Regions from separate parts of the Homo sapiens genome. Here region 1 is linked to region 2. Evidence: promoter capture Hi-C in 16 types of primary human blood cells and fetal thymus (Javierre and others, 2016). All regions are on one chromosome and are shown on one strand. Each heading gives the region's core, a stretch centred on a gene start or on the middle of the fragment in contact. The rest is flanking DNA. Distances are from core to core; before and after follow the strand shown. Region 1 overlaps RMDN1 (regulator of microtubule dynamics 1). Region 2 holds the start of RBM12B-AS1 (RBM12B antisense RNA 1).

Evidence for each region. Contacts are between HindIII fragments. The CHiCAGO score rates a contact against its expected background, and 5 or more counts as called.
Region 1: a fragment that was not itself captured here is called in contact with the fragment with the promoter of RBM12B-AS1 in region 2 in 1 of 17 cell types (non-activated CD4 T cells); the score reaches 6.0 in non-activated CD4 T cells.

What each region holds. Positions count from the first base shown.
Region 1 is chr8:86,503,647-86,507,952 of GRCh38, reverse strand. It overlaps RMDN1 (regulator of microtubule dynamics 1), which reads left to right. Exons shown (of 10, transcript NM_016033.3): 2 at 841-958. It also overlaps the pseudogene SLC2A3P4. Among named protein-coding and RNA genes, the nearest start is that of RMDN1, 2.9 kb to the left of the region's middle. The HindIII fragment of the contact is 1,164 bases long and covers 724-1,887 here.
Region 2 is chr8:93,737,518-93,741,814 of GRCh38, reverse strand. RBM12B-AS1 (RBM12B antisense RNA 1) reads right to left here and starts at 1,704. Exons shown (of 1, transcript NR_027259.1): 1 at 996-1,704. RBM12B (RNA binding motif protein 12B) reads left to right here and starts at 806. Exons shown (of 4, transcript NM_001377960.1): 1 at 806-934; 2 at 1,119-1,186. It overlaps RBM12B-DT (RBM12B divergent transcript), which reads right to left and starts at 732. Exons shown (of 2, transcript NR_183450.1): 1 at 356-732. RefSeq lists an enhancer at 780-899. The HindIII fragment of the contact is 1,858 bases long and covers 752-2,609 here.

The sequences.
Region 1 (4,306 bases), core at 56-2,555, 7.2 Mb after region 2:
CGTGGGCCTCTGTTTATTCTTGTCAGGGAATTGGAATGGCATTAATGCATATGATATATTTCACATGAACTAGGGGTTTCATTATTTTAAACTCAAATTTTTAACTGCTCAGTTAAAATCTTTCAGAATTATTATGGGACTGATGGTGGGGAGGGGTGGTTAAAATTTGGCATATTCCCCTTCCTTGGAAGTTTATAACCAAATGGGGAGGTTATAGATAATATAGGCAGAGAGATGGGAGGAGTTCTAAGTATGAAACTAGTTAGCCGTAAGTTTTCAAATTGGAACAATGATGAGTTTGAAGTCCCATTTTAGGCCTGGCCCCTTGGCTCAGCCTGTAATCCCAGCACTTTGGGAAGCCGAGGCGGAAGGATTGCTTGAGTCCAGGGGTTTGAAACCAGCCTGGGCAACACAGTGAGACCCTGTCTCTACAAAAAAATTTAAAAGTTAGCCATGTACATTTTTATATGTAGTAATTACTATATATGATAATCTTGTCTGTAAGATTCATTTTTATTATGTGTTGGTGTCTCATATTTTACTTCATACAATTTGCAATATCCATGCATTTGCAAATAAGTTGTAGCAAATAAGTTGTAGCTCTTCCTTTCCAGCAGGAGTGTGATTTTTAGATGAGCGGCGACTCCAGGGGATATCTTTTTCTCAATAAGATACGCTTTGAGATAGTTTTACTAAAGATTTTGATGAAGTAATTTTTAAGCTTCCAGTATTATGATCGATTGCTTTGGGGGTGGGAGAAAATTCATGTAATTTTTGCTTGGGGTAGCAGTACCTTCAAATTTTCAAAGTTTGTAACTCTTAACATAATTGTTTCCATAGGTAATGGGAAACCCAGGAACTTTCAAAAGAGGCCTTTTACTCTCAGCTTTGTCGTATTTGGGTTTTGAAACTTACCAGGTTATCTCTCAGGCTGCTGTGGTTCATGCCACAGCCAAAGGTAAGCATAAATTAGATATATGGAACATTTAGAGTTTTTTTGTGTGCGTACATTCAGAATTTTTATTTTAAAACAAAGAATCAGGGTAATGTTAATAATAGAAAATCCATATGGAAATATTCACAATCTGCTCAGTGAGAAATGGGAAAACAACTTCCCTGCCTAACTGCCAACCTACTGTTTGAGGAGCCAGAAGTTGACGTGAAGTTGGAAGAAGGTCACCTTTTCCAGCTAAACCCCACTCCATAGCTATGTGCATTTTTATTTGAAGTCTCCGTGACCAGAGGAAACAGTGAGAACTGAGAACCAAGATACCGTTATCAGCAAGGGTTTGGCTAAAGGGTCTGAGATGTGTAAGCACCAAGAAGGGGAAGGGAAATTGAGCAACATATGAAAAAGGGGCTGTAGGAACACAGAAAAAATAAGTCAACAATAACCTATTTCCATCCAGAGCAAAGGGACAGTGCACACATATTCATCCTCTCAAGTGTGGGCTACACTGTACATTGACTCATACTATCTCGAACATGGTCTGTTGGAAAGATTGAGACCCCCTAAGGGCACTTGGCATAGGACCACAGTGACATGGTAACAGACATAGACAAGCATGGCATGACCCTAAAGGCAACAACACACCTTTAGATAATAATCGTTCAGAAAAAAATCCCAGAGCTGAGGTTATAAATTCCAAGTTAGCTATAAACATTCTTTGGGGAATTCCTTTAAAGATATGAGTTAAAATAAAACAAAATCAACACCTAAAATCTCCTAAAGCACAAAATGGAGAAATAATGAATCTCTACCAAGAACTGATTATTTTAAGTTTCTCATTTGGATGGCTCTCCCACCAGATAGGTGGTGGGATTACTTCAAAAGTAATGAGTCTCCTACAAGGAGGAGTTGTTTGGTCCAGTGAGGGGGAACAAGCTTTCTAGAAATAACTTTCCCTTCCCTTGACTCCATTCAAAATTAGAACCCATCAACCACCATTAACTACAATGCCCATATTAGTTAATAATCCTAGATTTCAAGTACTACTACATGTAAACTATTAAAAGAAAAAAGTTCCAAAGGAAATCAATAACTTTATTATGTAGGCATATGACTTTTATGGGAAATTAAGAGTTTCCATCTGAAGGACAGAAATTGTCAAGAGGTAATGTGCAGACTTCAGGCACCACATAATATACCCTCCAATAATGAACTACATTTCTCCCTAAATTCTTCATATTGCACGCTAACCTCCCCAGCATGAAATCTTCTACTGTATAACCTCTCTTTAAACACCTCCCTCCAATCTCAATTTCCTTCTGTTTTTATTATTTGGCAAAATTACACTTAAAAAAATAAACATTTCCATCATGGGACATGTATACCTATGTAACAAACCTGCGCATTCTGCACCTGTATCCCAGAACTTAAAAAATTATGTAATTAAACCAGAGGGTAAAATAAATAAAACTCAAGTTAATTTGCCTTGTAGAGCTATATGGAAGTGAGGAAGGTGCTCTTACATAAACCCCGTCTGCCTTCCACACTCATATGTATATCTTCTTCCTGATAAGTCTGAGGTTGGGGGAACTGCGCCTTACTTTTCCTCTCCTATATCCCCTAGTGCGGCAATATTAGAACCCAAGGAAGGAAAAACTGGCAAAGTTGTCATATGCCAAGTGGCCATTGCCTCCTGAAATGAAGGTAGGTTCACTTGGTCTCTCCTAAGCAGAAGAGAATGTCCAGGAAATAAAATATTTAAAAAACCATTGAAAATCCAACAAACCCCAGCCTTGAGGTGCGCATGGAGTGCGTGGGATAAGAAAGGAATCAAGTAGCAGCATTCAGAAGCAGTCCTGGGTTCATCCTGATGAGGTCTCTCATTCAGGGAGAGGTGGCTTTCCCATGCTGGGAGGGAGGTGGAAGGAGGCATGACTTAGACATTGGTGGTGGTCTCCTTAGCAGCCTGGATGCTGTTCATCTCCATGATGCCATCCTTCCCAGATCTATCTGCACCATGTGCCTGCCTTTTAAAGGCCCATGTGATATCCTCAAAAGCCCTGCCATGGGTCTCAGGGACTTTGAAGAAGGTAAAGGTCAAGAAGGTGATGAGGAAGCTGGCGAAGATAATAAAAATACAGGCTCCTAAATAATAAGCAGCAGAGGGGAAGAGCAGTCCGACTAAGAAGTTGGAGGTATAGTTGGAGCAGCCGGCCATTGCAGTCGCAGCTGGGCGGGGGCCCTGGCTGAAGAGTTCGGCCACAATAAACCAGGAAATGGGACCTGGTCCAATTTCAAAGGCCACAAAGACCAAGATAGCCCCGATAAAGACAAAGCTCATCCCATTATACTCATCCTTTAATAACAAACAGTCATGAGCATGGAACAAAAAGCCATCCCTCCAAGGCCTATCATATGCAGGGTCCGCCTTCCTGCCCTTTGCAGCAGAAATAGGGAAACTACAGTGAAGATAGTATTAAACACACGTGCACCAATGGTGGCATAGATGGGCTCTTGAACACCTGCATCCTTGAAGATTCCTGTTGAGTAATAGAACACAACATTGATTCCAGAGAGCTGTCGAGAGAGCTGGAGCACAATGGAAATGATGATTGGCTGTTGGTAGCTGGATACTCTAAAGAACTCCAGCACGGTGACTTGCTTTTCTTGTGACATCCTTGCACTCTCATCTTGCATCTCCTGGTTGTCTTGGGATACATCCTGGGTGCCCCACAACTGCTGGAGGATCTACTTAGCATTCTCCTCTTCTTTTCTGTTAATGAGCAAAAACCTGGGACTTTCAGGGCAAAATGGAAGGGCTGCACTTTGTAGGATAGCAGGAAGGATGGTAAAGCCCAATAATACCGGCCATAGCTCTTCAGACCCAAGGATGAATTTGAATTCCAGACCAAAGATCTGGGCCACCAGAATTCTGACAATGATGCCCAGCTGGTTGAGAGTGCCAAAGGTACCCTGCAGGGCAGTAGCTGAGATCTCTCCAATGTACATGGGCATAAAACCTGTGCACAGTCCACAGAAGAGGCCAATAACCAAGCAGCCCAGGGTCAGCATTTCAACCAACTCAGCTGCTTTACACAATCCCATAAGGCAGCCACCAGAGACAGCCAACAGGTTGACGATAAGCATTGAATTGCACCTGTCAAAAAGTGGTTGATAAAGAGTCTAACGGAAAAGGAGCCAGTCATACCAACAATGGAGAATATGGCCACAGACAAGGACCAGAGGGACGTGAGCAACATCTCAGAGGGAGGGATATTTGCCTGGTCACTCAAAGTGTTATTGATAAATTCCTTTATGATCATCTCAGGAGCACTGATGACTCCCGTGTTGTAGCCA
Region 2 (4,297 bases), core at 455-2,954:
ATTTATATCTATAAAACCGACTAAGCATGCATTTATTAAGCCCCCAGGTGTTGGGATTGTACTTGGCGAACATCTAAGGCAGTAAAATTACCTTTTCTGTGGTATTCTAGGGTCTACAGGAGCTTTTTTATTTTTGTTTTGAGATGGAGTTTCACTCTTTTGACCTGGCTGGAGTGCAGCGGTGCGATCTCGGCTCACTACAGCCTCCATCTCTCGGGTTCAAGCGATTCTCCTGCCTCAGCCTCCCGAGTAGCTGGGATTACAGGCGCCCGCCACCATGCCAGGCTGACTTTTTTGTATTTTTAGTAGAGACGGGGGTTTCGCTTTTTGGGCGGGCTGGTCTCGAACTACTGACCTCAAGTGATTCGCCCGCTTCGGCCTCCCAAAGTGCTGGGATTACAGACGTGAGCCACCGTGCCCGGCCACAGGAGCTTTTTAGAAGATGTTTTACGCCACACAGTAATGCAACACTGAAAAGACAAGTCGCCTTTTCTCTGCTTTTGCATCTCTTTCCTTAACTTCTGGAAATCTTTAAAGTTTGTCCGCCGTACTTCGACAGTTGTCTACCGAAGATTCTCAGCACATCTACCGGCTGAGCCCTGAATGTGTCTCTGAATTTCTCCCGTTGAAAGTCGAGGTCCCTGGGCTGGGCAGAATCTGGGCATGCGCAGAAGCTCAGCCAACCCCGGGGCTCCGCCTCCCCTCCTCTAGCGAGGGGAAACGGGTGAGCGGCAGCGCGCGTGCGCAAGCTTGGTGGTGGGTTGCGCCTGCAGAGCGCATGGGCAGATAAACCGTACGTCCGTTTGTCCGGACCGGAGGGGCAGTGGGCGCCATCTTCTTCTGGGCTCACTGAGGGTCTACCTGTTTTGGGGAGGCTGCTGCGACGAAGAGTTCCCTCAGCCTCCGGCCTTGTGTGTCCGACTCGGCAGCAGTGGTGTGTGTTTATTGCCAAGTGCGAAGCAGTTCCCCTCGGGGCGCCGGGGGTGGGGAGGGCTGGGCGACCAAGCCGGAAGAACGGGGAAAGGCGGGACCGGCGGCCGCGCCAGTATCTAGCGTAGCTCCTGCCGTTAGGGCACCCTCTTTTCTTGCTAAAACACCGACTCTTCCTTTCCCGTCAGCTTCCATGTGGTGGTGTATGTGCGCTTCCCAGGGATCTTGAGAGTGAAGATCTCGAAGGATTTCATAGGTATATTTTTTTCTTTGCTATGTCATCGTAGTCAGTGGTGGCAGAAAAGCGCTGCAGGCCCAGCTCGTTAGGCTTGAGAAGGGCAAGTGTTTTCAGTTAGATCTGGGGGCAGTTCACCCTCTGGCGAGTTAGGGTGGAATGTTTGCCCTTGAGACGGCGTAACGGAAAGGCACGGAGGTTGGGCGGTCCAGGTTAATTTGAAGGCTGATTTTGGCTGAAAGTCTGGCGACAACATCGGATCCCACGTAGCAACTTTGGCCTGGCGCGAAAGAAGGAAGCTCTGACCCCTGGGAGTTGTGGACAAAGGCTTTGGGCTGTAGAATCGATGCCTTCGGATGATTCCCGTTTGAGGATGTTGGGAGAAATCCTGTGCCATGTGGATTCGTCTTCATTTACAGTTCTTCCTAGGGACTGTGGCTCTCATTGGTCATTCCTTTGGTTTTTATTTTAAACATCTACATTATAAAAGGTGGATCATCGTAAAGAATAATTATGGGTTGGTGTAGATTATTTTCTGCAGGGGAAACTCACGTTTAGAGTGTGAATATGCTACATCATGACCTTGGGCTTTACGAAGTAGTCGCAGAGTTAAAAAAAATTCTCTCCCTCACCATATCTGGAAAATGACTTTTTCTTCGCTAGTTAAAAATCAAATGGATCTGATGAGATATTACTTATTTAAATTCTGTCTCCCTCCCGTTTCCCTCTCTGTATCCCCTTAAGTCTTGATTAGAAGAGGCACGTTACGTATTGTTTAGTTATAATGGTGATTAAGTGGGATGAATCGTTGGATAAAAATAGCAGTTATTTAAAATGCGCTTTAAATTTCACTGACTTAAGTGATCTTTTAGGGACCCACTCTTCTTTTCATAGAAATTTTAACAGATTATTGTCTTCAAATGAACACAAAGGCACAAAAATACTTTTTGCATTCATAACTAGAAAAACGCAAAATTTTAATTGCAGACTACTTGAGGGTAATTTTCGTGTTTTGCTTTTGTGTAATTTAGTGTGTTAAGAGTTGAATTTCTGGAGAATTTGCTTAAGGAAATATAGCATGTTGGAACCACAGAAGTGCCCATTTTGAGAGCTGGTCTCTTACAGTTGGTCTCCAAGGTGTGTTATTGTAGAGGCATAAATGGTACATTACCCTACTGTCTCAAGGGTAGAGAAGTTTAAGCATTAGTTTTGTTTAACTGTGGCAAATGAGAATAAACTTTCTAAATAGTCTGCTTGAATTGGAATTCATGAGATTTGTGCTCATGAAACTACTTGGTTAAAAGATAGTTTTTAAGTGAGGTAGGATAAATTACTAGAGTTTTTTTGAATTTGAGATATAATTATTCCTTGAAACGTCTCTAATTTCTCTTGTAGATGAATTTATGTTCCCAGGGTAAATCCCGTTAAAATTTTTTTAAAAGCTTAGGAGAGACAAGAATATGTATAGCTTATGGTGCTTTCTAAAATATCTTAAAAAGAGTAGCTAAGCCAATTTGCATAGGAGGGAGTCTTGGGACTTTAATATGGATAAAGTAAGTATTCCAGAAGCCATTTGTAGTTTTTGTTGAAGTGTTAGTATGGATATTGGTTTGTTGAAGAAAATAGGCTTTTTTTCTTTTTTTGTTACTGTGCAAATACTTTAATAGCAAACCTGATTAATATTTTTCAGATGTAGAATGTGTGAAGTAATTTGATGTCTTTGCTAGTTTAGCTTCTGGTTAATCTACGTACCCTTTTTTAAAGGAAAACAGACCTCAGTGAATGTATCTTCAGACCCCCACTTTGGGGAACAGTGGTACTTAAGTGTAAGTACTGGATTCTGGATTAACGCAACATTTATTTGTACATTAAAGACATGTAAATTACTCCAGGCGCAGTGGCTCATACCTGTAAATCCTAGCACTGTGGGAGGCTGAGGTGAGCTGATTGCTTGAGCCCATGAGTTCCCTACCAGCCTGGGCAACATGGTGAAACCCTGGCTCTACAAAAAATACAAAAATTAGCCGGGTGTGGTGGTGCACACCTGTAGTCCCAGCTACTGGGGAGGCTGAGGTGGGAGCATTGCCTGAGCCTGGGTAAGTCGAGGCTGTAGTGAGCCAAGATCGCACCAGTGCACTCCAGCCTGGGTAGCAGAGCAAGAGAGACCCTGTCTCCCCCACCAAAGAAAGTGAGTGTAAATTATAATTATTTATTTGGCAAGTCTTCATGAAATAGTTTGGGTATCCCTGAAAGTATTAAACGCAAACTTCTTTAAAAAATTACATTGAGATTTTTCAGTAAACGGGTAATCCCAGTATTCCAAGTTAATTTTTAATTTTACTTTTCTACATCATCATTTGGGTTTCCTTAGTAGAGTGCAGAATAGTTGTTTGAAATGGAAATCTGCTATTGGCATTATTAATAAGATAAATAGCATTTTCTGTTTGGCTTGAGATGAATTGTAACAGTTACTATTTTTGCAATAGGAGTGGTATTGAGATTTTTAACTTTAGGGATATTGTAGTATTTGCCTTAATTATACTGGCTTCATGAAATTTGGTTCTGTGCTTGGATGTATGAGCTGTTTATATAGACCTTTAAATTGTATCCAAACAATAGCCCATAGGTTTGGATTTATTGTTTTAAAAATTGATTTTTGAATTTCAGGCTTTGCTGTTTTATTCATTTATTGTGTAATTTTGAATGGTTGCCTTAATTTGATTTGGTCTTATGTTTTGAAAGGGAGGAGAACAGCACGAGAGTTGGATATAAATATGTACTAGATTTTTGGATTTTCATGTGGCAAAATGATTGAAGTTCTTTTTTTTTTTTTTTTTTTTTTGAACTTTGGGTATTGAGATTTTACTTGTAGAACAGTTTTTTGAAGTAGATGTAAAACTTGTGTACAGCAAAATGTATAGACCCTAAGGATAGAATTCAGTAAACCTTGATAAATTTATACACCCATGTAACTACTGCTGCATTCAAAATATGTAACATTTCCATCACTCCTTTCTTCGTGCTACTTCCAATCAAGAGCAGTTGTTAAATTTTCGGCAAGTTTCAAATTTTTAAATAATTTTTATATGTCTATTTGGATATTGTATCTCCTTTTTGCAGAAGGATGATTAA